Regions from separate parts of the Homo sapiens genome. Here regions 1, 3 and 4 are each linked to region 2. The links are contacts of gene promoters, found by promoter capture Hi-C in blood cells and fetal thymus (Javierre and others, 2016). All regions are on one chromosome and are shown on one strand. Each heading gives the region's core, a stretch centred on a gene start or on the middle of the fragment in contact. The rest is flanking DNA. Distances are from core to core; before and after follow the strand shown. Region 1 overlaps USP35 (ubiquitin specific peptidase 35). Region 2 holds the start of PCF11 (PCF11 cleavage and polyadenylation factor subunit). Region 3 overlaps EED (embryonic ectoderm development). Region 4 has its middle 3.5 kb from the start of EED.

Evidence for each region. The method cuts DNA at HindIII sites, captures the fragments that hold promoters and counts their contacts. A CHiCAGO score of 5 or more calls a contact.
Region 1: a fragment that was not itself captured here is called in contact with the fragment with the promoter of PCF11 in region 2 in 1 of 17 cell types (non-activated CD4 T cells); the score reaches 6.4 in non-activated CD4 T cells.
Region 3: a contact is called between a fragment that was not itself captured here and the fragment with the promoter of PCF11 in region 2, in 1 of 17 cell types (M0 macrophages). The highest score is 7.0, in M0 macrophages.
Region 4: a contact is called between a fragment that was not itself captured here and the fragment with the promoter of PCF11 in region 2, in 6 of 17 cell types (fetal thymus, erythroblasts, total CD4 T cells and 3 more). The highest score is 18.7, in fetal thymus.

Annotation. Positions count from the first base shown.
Region 1 is chr11:78,199,379-78,202,078 of GRCh38, forward strand. It overlaps USP35 (ubiquitin specific peptidase 35), which reads left to right. Exons shown (of 11, transcript NM_020798.4): 4 at 217-346; 5 at 755-856; 6 at 1,272-1,430. Among named protein-coding and RNA genes, the nearest start is that of USP35, 12 kb to the left of the region's middle. The HindIII fragment of the contact is 2,768 bases long and covers 1-2,652 here.
Region 2 is chr11:83,155,689-83,158,388 of GRCh38, forward strand. It overlaps PCF11 (PCF11 cleavage and polyadenylation factor subunit), which reads left to right and starts at 1,443. Exons shown (of 16, transcript NM_001346413.3): 1 at 1,443-1,943. The coding sequence starts at 1,752. RefSeq lists silencers at 1,019-1,098, 2,549-2,608 and enhancers at 1,299-1,348, 1,413-2,202, 1,499-1,748. The HindIII fragment of the contact is 1,033 bases long and covers 493-1,525 here.
Region 3 is chr11:86,257,917-86,260,616 of GRCh38, forward strand. All of the region lies in intron 6 of EED (embryonic ectoderm development), which reads left to right. Among named protein-coding and RNA genes, the nearest start is that of EED, 15 kb to the left of the region's middle. The HindIII fragment of the contact is 1,764 bases long and covers 382-2,145 here.
Region 4 is chr11:86,239,870-86,242,569 of GRCh38, forward strand. No RefSeq gene overlaps it. Among named protein-coding and RNA genes, the nearest start is that of EED, 3.5 kb to the right of the region's middle. The HindIII fragment of the contact is 945 bases long and covers 840-1,784 here.

The DNA.
Region 1 (2,700 bases), core at 19-2,518, 5.0 Mb before region 2:
TCTTGGTGGGCTGGGAGCCTCAGTGTCTGGCAGGTGGCTGTGCTGGGCTTGTGCATTTCCCAGCCATGTCTGGTTCAGCCCACAGACCCCGGGGCTGCCCTTTGCAGGTGTGAGTCAATGTGGGAACCCAGGACATTACGGATAGCCCCTGGGCTGCCCTCACCCCAGCATTTTGGGTGTCCCTTGTCCCTGTGTCACTGTCACTCCCCTCACCAGGATGATTGACTGGGTGTCCTGGCCCCTGGGGAAGAATATTGACAAGTGGATCATTGCACTGCTGAAGGGCCTGGCTGCTGTTAAGAAGTTCAGCATCTTGATCGAGGTTTCGCTCACCAAAATTGAGAAGGTTGGTGCCCCTGTCCTAGCCCAGAGTTACAGCCTTTTGTACTAGGCTCTTGCCAGGGGCGGTGCAGGTCTGGGAGGTCAGAGCATTGGGCCTACCCACCAAGCTCGCTGTGTGACCTGGGCGAATTCACTGCCCCTCTCTGGGCCTCAGATTCTCCCCATTAGTTTCCCTGACTACTCATCCAAGTATGTGTGTCTGACTTTTGGTGTGTCCATCCATTCCTCAGATATCTATGTTGCTGTCCATCTCACCATCTGTCTGTCCATCTGGGTCTGTGAGCACCTCAGTGTTGATCCCTCTGCATGGGTTTGAACTCTAGGGTGTCTCTGAGTCCCCTCTCAGGCTTGTGATTCTACTTGGCCTCAGCAGCTCAAGCCTGGGGACTCCTGACCAGGGACTCTCTTGTAGGTTTTCTCTAAGCTGCTGTACCCCATCGTCCGGGGAGCTGCCTTGTCTGTGCTCAAGTACATGCTCCTGACCTTCCAGCACTCCCACGAAGCCTTCCACCTGGTAAGGTCCCCTGCCTGCTGCCCCTGGTGAGGCCCCTGCCTGCTGCCCCTGGTAAGGGCCCTGCCTACTGCCCCTGGTAAGGGCCCTGCCTGCTGACCCTGGGCTCTTGGGGCAGGTCACTTGGCTGAGGCCAAGCAGCTGGATCGTGGGCTCTGGCCTCCCTTTGACTGTGAGGAGAGGAGTAGTCATCCTATTTTGCAGATGAAGAAACTGAGGCAGGGTGTCTTAGATCATATTGTTGGGAAAAGGAGTCACCTGCCTGCAGAGCTCAGAGCCCCATCTGGGTCAGGGGACAGTGGTCAGGTGGGCAAGCCTCCCTACCTCAGAGAGTGTTGCGTGCTGTCAGCAGGGACCACAGCCCCGTGTCTCAGGTGGGCGGGTTGGTGCTGAGCCTGACGCAGCTCTGCTCCCACAGCTCCTCCCTCACATCCCCCCCATGGTGGCCTCTCTGGTCAAGGAGGACTCGAACTCGGGGACCAGCTGCCTGGAGCAGCTGGCGGAGCTGGTCCACTGCATGGTGTTCCGGTTCCCGGGCTTCCCGGATCTGTATGAGCCTGTCATGGAGGCCATCAAGGTGAGCGACAGTCCCCTACTTGGGCCTTGCCCCACTCTGACAAAGGTACCAGTGTGGGCCTTCCAGCGGGCCATACCACAGCTTGGTGGCAGTCCCCGTCATTTGGTGCCTGGCTGTCTCCCATCACCTCCCCAGGTCCATCATGTGCCTCAAGCACACTGAGCCACTCACGTTCCCCAAGTAGGCTGGGCTGCCTCATGGCTGCTCTGGGCTTTTGCACACACTGTGCTTTCTAACCATAAACGCTTCTCTGTCAGTGTAGTATGGAAATTAAAACACGTTCTCTTTCTCTGCTCTGCCTGGACAGCTCCTGCTTACCTTGTAAGTCTCTGTTCTAGTGTTACTTCCCTCAGGATGCCTTTCCTGATCACTCTCAGTACTCCCATGCCCTCCACCAGGCTGGGCTAGGGCCTCGCTGGGCTCCCACAGTCTTGGTACATCCCTCTGTCACATGTTATCACTGTCTGTCTGCCTCCCTTGCCAGACTGTGAGCACTCCAGACCAGGGATAATTTACAGTCGTTCACATGACTTTACTGACGTCCTGCTCTGCACCAAGCCCAGGCTGGGAACTGGGGGCATGGGCATGAAGCAAACGGAGTCTCCTCCATTGAGAGGATCGCAGCCTGGTGAGGGTGACAGACTTGGATACGAGAAACTCTGGTCGGAGCAGCTTTTGAAAATGTCTACAAGGTTTGGCTTGAGAGCAGTGAGAAACCAGAGGAAGGAAAGATCTTCTCCAGTTAGAGAGGACAGATGAGGCCTCTAAGAAGAAAGAGTTTCTTAGAGGCCTCATCAAGCTGGGCTTGACGGGTTGCTAGGATCTGACAGTGACTAACATCTGTGGCTACTGCTACACTTGAGATTATTTTCCTGTATGTTTTGTCTTCTGATGCTCACAAGAAACCTACAAAGATGATACGGTTCATTTCAATCTCATAGATGAGGAAAAGGAGACTTGGAGAAGTTTGGTGACTTGTGCAAAGTCACAGAGGTAGTGAGACATGTAGCTGGAGTCTGGATGGCAGAGCCTTCCCCATTGCCTGATAGAGAAGGCAGGTTGGGTGGGGTGAAGGGGTCTAGGTAGGTGGCCCTTGCAGAACCTTTGATCTGACTTTTACATCTGCAGCACAGCAGACGAGATAACCTGAAAAGTGTCCTGCTACAAAACAGCTAGAAATGCTTGTTAAAATATAACAAACATCACTTTAAGTACATAGCTAAGCTTGCAAGAAAGTAAGGGGGAGTCCCCAGGGGCCAAAAAGGAAGAG
Region 2 (2,700 bases), core at 193-2,692:
AAGAGCAATTTCTTCTGGGGAGCAACAAATTATCTCTCAAATGCCTAGTAGCCTACGGAAGGCAATGGAAAAGCAATTTTAGGTAATTGACACTTTTTTTTTTTTGAGACAGACTCTCGCTGTCACCAGCCTGGAGTACAGTGGCGTGATCTCGGCTCACTGCAACCTCCACCTCCCGGGTTCAAGCGGTTCTCCTGCCTCTGCCTCCCGAGTAGCTGGGACTACTATAGGCGCACGCCACCACGCCCAGCTAATTTTTGTATTTTTAGTAGAGACGGGGTTTCACCATGTTGGCCAGGGTGGTCTCGATCTCTTGATCTCGTGATCCGCCCGCCTCGGCCTCCCAAAGTGCTGGGATTACAGGCGTGAGCCACCGCGCCCAGCCCGTAATTGACACATTTTAAAAGCTTATATTTAGGTCAATATCGCTACTCAATGAAAAAATTACGTTTGGTTTGTGTTATGTCGCAGCTCCACGGTGAACTATTTGAAAGCTTTGTGTGTTTTACGAGCATCATTTCCAACCTGGGAAGACAGCCCCACAAGTTTAAAACAAAAGTGCATGCGCGTGTGTGTTTTCCTACGTGCCCCAAATAGTGTATGCTAAGGAGGTTCTGAAATGCAGATTCACAGTGGAGATATTACGGTCCAGCTGGGTGTGGCTGTTGTGAAAAACTCTTCCTAGAGCTCATAGTGGGCTCCTTAAAGAGCTCCTCCAAACCCCCAAGGAAAAAGCCTTTCACACTTAATCTCTAAATAAAAGGCATTTTCCTGGGGATTCAAGTCAGGCAAGCTCGCCTAGGTATTTTTGTGGGTGTGGGAAGCGGCGTGCTGGAAGAAACTCTCCAGCAGTGCTTTCCGAAGTTCCGGGTAAATTGGGCACCTCCCTCCCACTTCCCAGTTCCCAGAGGGGCAGCTGGACCCGCCCTGGCTCTCCAGAGCACCTGAGACGCTAAGGGAGAGGGGGTGCGGCGGCAGAAAGCCTCCGCTCCCTCCAACCCCCGCTCCCTCCAACCCCCACCGTCGGTAGCAGCTACGGGGCAGGCGGGAGGAAAGATGATTGACAGGCCCGCTCAGTGGCTGGGAAGCTAGAGGGAGGGACGAAGAGGGGACGGCTGAGTCTTCTTCTCAAAGTGGTTGGGTTGGGCCGCGGGAACTGCCTTCCCAGGCCTATTGGCTTCCCTGAATGGGTTGTTATGGTAACAAATGACCGAACAGTCCCTTATGAATCGGCCAATGAGAAGGGCCGTCTTTTCCAGTGCGCCTCCGAGCAGTAGATGTTGCGAAAGTCCGGGTAGAGGCCGGAGAAGAAGGCGGTGCCAGGGCGTCCTGCGGAAGGGCCGGGGGCGGGGCTCGTGACGTTGCCGGGACAGCCAATCACGCCTGGTTTTATCAGTGGCCCCGCCCTTTTACCGCACATTTCCCCTCCCCTAGTTCATTTCGCACGACGCAGCGGTTGGGAACACAGACATTTTCGGAGCTGGAGCCGCCACTGCCGCCGCCATTTTGTGTCTGTGGAGAAAGAAGCTTCTGTGGCGGCTGGAAGTGGACGGAGATCACCCGCGAGACGGCGGCGTTTCATACCCGAGGTTCCCCCTGTGTCGTCCCCCATCCCCCCTCCGCGGTCAGCATGTGGTGAAGCCGGAGCCGCGAGAGAGCCGGGGAGAGGAAGAGGAGTCGGAAGGGAGGCGGGGTATCCAGAGCGGCTTCAGCTTCAGCTGCAGCGGACCTCGGAGGGGGGCCGCGGCGCAATGTCAGAGCAGACGCCGGCCGAGGCCGGTGCTGCGGGGGCCCGGGAGGACGCCTGTCGGGATTATCAGTCATCGCTCGAAGACCTGACCTTCAATAGCAAGCCGCACATCAATATGCTGACCATTCTAGCCGAGGAGAACCTGCCCTTCGCCAAGGAGATCGTCTCTCTCATCGAGGCCCAAACCGCCAAGGTTTTTATACACCCCGCAGCCTCCTATTACTTCTAATACTCCCTGATTTTAGTGTCAGCCTCATCCCAGGTCTCGCTTCCATCCCAAGGGGGACAGTGTTCCTTCTCTCCAACCCCCCCACCCCCCTCCAACTCAGGCTCGGTCTTTGGCCCAGGCTTCGAGCATGGGCCTCTGGGGGGGAGGGAGTGGGGAGGATAAAGGGTGGAGTCCCACTTCCGCTTTCCAACTCCCTTTTTAGGCCACCGCATTGTATATCCCGACACACACACGCTTTGAATAGAGCCCTTTGGGGTGGGGGAGACTTAAAGGCAGTTTGTGGTTTGGGGAAGTAAGAGTTAACATAAGCCATTTTAATTCCCTGGGAAGTGGGAGAGTGGGTCTCCCATTTTCCCCAAGCACCCTTTTTGGTAATTGTGTTCTGTGGGTTGGAAGGAGGTGAAGGGGGACCTGGGAGCGAGCTGTTGGTGGGTGGGAATAGGGATTTGGCCCCGAGTGGAGCAGCCGCCTGTTAGGAGCCCAACATGGCGCCTGAAAAGCACATGATGCGAAAGGGAAGAGAGGAGAATCCATTCCCTGCCAGCCAGGCAGCTGCTCACTCCCGTCAGCCCCATTTTGGGGTGGGGGCGGCTAGATAAAACTTTTATTCTCCTATTGGAGGGTCTAATTTGTCCCAAAATAGGGGCAAGTGGGGTTGAGGGTGGGGTTTGGGTGGGGGGAGGAGATCTTATCCAACCTGTAGGTGGAGAACTGGCCCAGA
Region 3 (2,700 bases), core at 14-2,513, 3.1 Mb after region 2:
CCTTTACGTCTCGGAGAACACACATAGTTTACTTTGGCATGTACATTCTCATTGCAGTGCATTATTTCCATATAAACATCTTTTATTTTAGAGAGCCTCTCTGTTACTTAGGTTGACAGGTCCTGTTTTATTTTAAGTCTAGTATCTGTTAGTTATTTTTCCTGATCTTCTTACTCCTCCCACCCTCTACCCTCCAGTAGGCCCCAGTGTATGGACAGATAGTGTTCTAAGGAAATAAAGCCAAATTAAAAAAAAGGTTATAACAGTACATTTTAGTAGGAAAATCCCAGGCTATGTTAGCATATCCAAATCATTTTGTCCAATCATGTAATAATAAATACTACATATGAAAATTCATATTGCTTTTTTATTTTTTAAAAAAGCTTTTGTTTTATAAAGGATTTCCTATAGAATTTCTTAAAAATGCTACGTTTTTCAGGATAAGTTATTTGAAATATTCCCATAAAGGGAAAGCATTGCATTTTGGAAATCACTACCTCTAGGAAGAGTTGATTACTTTTTCTTGTCTCTTGATAACACTAATTGGGGCTCAGATATTTCTGAACAACTGTATAGACCGTAATGCCTCACTTGTTCTAAATATTACAACTTTTTTTTTCTCTTTTCTTTGTTTTTTGGTTTTTTTTTTTTTTTTTGAGACAAAGTTTCGCTCTTGTTGCGGAGGCTGGAGCGCAATGGTGCAATCTCGGCTGACTGCAACCTCTGCCTCCCGGGTTTAAGAGATTCTCCTGCCTCAGCCTCTCGAGTAGCTGGGATTACAGGCATGTACCACCATGCCCGGCTAATTTTTGTATTTTTAGTAGAGATACGGTTTCTCCACATGGGTCAGGCTGGTCTTGAACTCCTGACCTCAGTTGATCCGCCTGTCTCAGCCTCCTAAAGTGCTGAGATTACAGGTGTGAGCCACTGCGTCCTGCCTCTATTTATTTATTTATTTATTTATTTTTGAGACAGAGTCTTGCTTTGGCGCCCAGGCTGGAGTGCAATGGCTCTATCTCGGCTCACTGCAACCTCTGCCTCCTGGGTTCAGGTGATTCTCCTGCCTGACCCTCCCGAGTAGCTGGGATTACAGGCGCCCTCCACCATGCCTGGCTAATTTTTTTTATTTTTAGTAGAGATGAGGTTTCTCCATGTTGGCCAGGCTGGTCTCAAACTCCTGACCTCAGGTGGTCCACCCGCATCGGCCTCCCAAAGTGCTGGGATTATAGGCGTGAGCCACTGCGCACAGCCCAACATCACAACTTTTAACCCTGGTCTTCCTCTATTGTGTCAGTAAGAGCATTTTTAAAAATCAGAAGTTTGAGCATGAATAAGAATTTTGCTCCAAGTGATACTATCAAGAAAGTAAAAAAGCCTACTCAAAAGGAGAAAAAATATTTATAAATCATTCTGATAAAGGACTTTGATTTTTATTTTTTGTTTTTGGAGACAGGGTCTTGCCCAGTCACCCAGGTTGAGTGCAGTGGTGTGATCATGGCTCACTGTAGCCTCAACCTACCAAGTAGTTAGGACTACAGGCACGTGCCGCCATACCTGGCTAATTTTGTAAAAAATGTTTTTGTAGAGATGAGGTCTCCCTGTGTTACCTAGACTGGTCCTCAAACTCCTGGCCTCAAGCAGTCCTCCTACCTTGGCCTCCTAAACTGCTGGGATTACAGGCATGAGCCATGATTCCCAGCTAATAAGGGACGTGTATCAAGAATTTTTATAGCTCAACAATAAAAAGACAGCCCAATTTAAAAATGGCCAAAAGTTCTGAATGACATTTCTTCACAGAGCATACACAGATGGCCACTGAGCACATGAAAAGATGTTTAACATATTAATCATTAAGGAAATACAAATCAAAACCATAATGAAATACCACTTCACACCTACTTAGGGTGGCTGTAATAAAAACGTTAGATACTAACAAGTATTGACTGGCACAAGAAGAAATCAGAGCCCTCTCAGACACTGCTGGTGGGAATGTAAAATGTAACTACTTTGAAAAACAATCTGGCAGTTCCTCAAAATGTTACAGAGTCACTAATCCTAGATGTTTACATATGTATGTATATCCTAGGGTTGTGTGGGTGGGGGTGTACATATGTATCCCCAACAGAAATAACATGTCCATACAAAAGCTTGTACAAAATTGAAATCAAGGAATCATTTTTACAGCACTGTTAATTTTCACATGTATTACTACCTCTGGGGTGTTTATGTGATGCATTTATATTCACAGACAGAATGAACATTGTTATATTTCAAGCTTACATGACGTGTCTTTGCTTTACATTCTTTCTTTTTTTTAAATACTGTTTTAGAGACAGGATCTCACTCTGTCAACCAGGCTATAGTAGAGTGATGTGATCACAGCTCACTGTAGCTTGAGCTCCTGGCCTCAAGCAATGTTCCCACCTCATCCTTCTGAGTAGCTGGGACTACATGTGCACACCACCATGCCTGGCTAATTTTTAAAAATTTTTTGTAGAGATACGGTTTCATTATGTTGTCCAACCTGGTCTCAAACTCCTGGCCTCAAAAGATCCTCACACCTTGGCCTCCCAAAGTGCTGGGATTACAGGTGTGAGCTACTGCTGTACATTCTTTATTAATGTTTAATATAACATTGCTCAAATTATAGCTGCATAATTTTTGAAGAGGGACTGTCATTCTATAAAATTGTGCATGATA
Region 4 (2,700 bases), core at 62-2,561, 3.1 Mb after region 2:
TTATTCTATTTATATGAAGTTCTACAATAGGCAAAACTAATATGCAAATATAGGCAAAACAGAATAGTGGCTGCCTGGGGAGAAAGAGAGGAGAGGTTTGACTGGGAAGAGGCATGAGAAAACTTTCTGAGGTGTTGGAAAGCTCCATCTGTATCTTGATGGTGTGTGGATTATATGGGTGTATGCCTGTGTCAAAACACATGGAACTATATACTTGAGATCTGTGCATTTCACTGTATATAAGTGAAATAAATACAAACAGAGTTAAAATAATGCCATTCTAATTCCTTCTGTATAAGTCTTATCAACAGGAGATACATGTTAATAGACTTGTCTTAAGAAGGTCTATAAGATCCTCCACGATCTGGCCCCTTACCTTCTTTTCTAGCCTTCTCTGTTACCACACTTTTGTCACCTTCTCTTTTCAGTCCTTCACCAGCACTGACCTTTCAGTGTACCAATGGCGTTTGTACTCTTCTCATATTCCTGCGCCAGGACTTTTGCACATGCTGTTATCACTCCCTAGAATGTTTCTCCTTCTCTTCTTAATGGGAGACTGGTTAACTCCCATTCTTCTTTTAGTTCTACTCTTCTGTCTGTTTCTCAGGGAAACCCTCCCATGTCTCACTTTATTACACACGTCCATGGAAACTTTGTCCAGCTGCTGTGTATGCCTGTGCAGCTTGTTCATCTAAACAAGGGTTCCCAGCTGAGGTGACAACTAAAACTAAAATCAAATTTGTGCTCCACTCACAAAGCCTTGCACACGGAGCAGGGTTGTATCAATCTGGAAAAGGGGGTGCCTTTTCTAATTTACCAAAGTCATTGTTTGCTTGCCAAGCTTTACCTACTCTGGGCTCTTTCTGCTATGGCCTTTTAAAAAATAGCACAAAGATACCATATGGGCTAGCAGCAGCCCTGACCTTGTACTTCCCCTTCATACCACTTACCACGGTAATTTCACATTTATTTGGTTAATGCTTGTTTCTCCTACTTGTCAATAAGCATGATGACAGCAGGAAATTGTCTGGTTTTGCTTATTGTCAAGTTTCCTCAGCACCTGGAACAGTGTTGGGCACACAGTAGGTACTCAGTAAATATATATTAAATCTATTCGTTATTTTTCTTTTTTTTTTTTTTAAGACAGAGTTTCACTCTTGTCACCCAGGCTGGAGTGCAATGGTGTGATCTCAGCTCACTGCAAACCTCAACCTCCCGGTTTCAAGCTATTCTCTCACCTCAGCCTCCCGAGTAGCAGGGATTACAGGCTCCAGCCACCACGTCAGGCTAATTTTTGTATTTTTAGTAGAGACGGGGTTTCGCCATGTTAGCCAGACTAGTCTCGAACTCTTGACCTCAGGTGATCCACCTGCCTCGGCCTCTCAAAGTGCTGGGATTACAGGCATGAACCACCACGCCCGGCCCCATTCGTTATTTCTTAACGCTGGATGAATATTAGGCTGTTTGAAGGTAGAGACTGTGTCTTATTTTCTTTTTTATTGTCCCCTCCTCCCCATTGCCCCTGGAATTATCCTACTGCTTTGCATGTAAATGGCATTCAGTAAATTCTTCCTGATTGATTTGAAAACGTTCAAATAAGCCATATGATGTTCTGTTCATAGAAAACCAGATCTGCAAGCATATGATTACACATTGCATGAATGATGATGAACAGCTGCTATTTATGAAGCAGAAGAGACAAAAATGTTGAATGAATGAGAAATAGACTCCAGTTGAAATGGGAAGGATTTAATTTAGCTTTTGAAACTCATTTCCTGATATGAAGCTTACAAGATACCAGGAGACAATGCCAAGGAACGCTGTGAATTTTCTTTTTCTATATAAGTAAATGATCTTGGAAAGTTCCAAGATGGATCAACCACTTACTTGAAGGCTAAGGGGTATTTCTTACTGAATTCTCAACAGCCAAGTATGAGATAGATATTTTAAAGTAAGTTTTTATTTTGGAATACTTTTACAGAAAATTTACTAAGAACAAAGATAGCATAGAGAGTTCCTGTATTCCCCTCATCCAGTTTCCCTCATTATTAACATCTTACATTACCATGTTACATTGGTCAAAATTAAGTAAAGACTGAAATCCGTACATTACTATAAACTATGCTATAGATTCTTTGTTTGTTTTCCCAGTTGTATCTTCTTTCTGTCCCAAGTGAGATAGCTTTTTAAAGTTCTTTGATACTTTATAAACAATTCTGTGGTCTAAAGACCAAGCTCTGTGCATAGAATTACATAAATTTAGAGCTGCCTGGGTCCCTCATCTTGAGGTAAAAGTGCTTTGGCTTTCCAATCAATTGAACACAATCTCTAGTACTGCCACTTGAACAGCTGTGTGTCTTTGGGCATACTGTTTACTTATCCTAAGTCTTAGTTTCCTCATTTGTAAAATGTGGGTAGTAAGACCTCTCCAACTGTGATGGTTCCTGAGATCTTTCACAGTAGGAGAATGCAGTGTTGAGAAACGTACAAATTTTTCTTTTTTAGAGAAGTAGGTCTCCTTATGCAGCGCAGCCTGGCTTTGATATCCCGGGCTCAAGCAATCTTCCTGCCTTAGTCTCTTGAGTAGCTGGAACTACAGGTACACATCAATGCACTCAGCAAAACTTATTTTTAATAGGTAATTAGACTTTTATGGTTATTAAATTAATACCACAAAAGTAGTACTCTGCATGGAACACC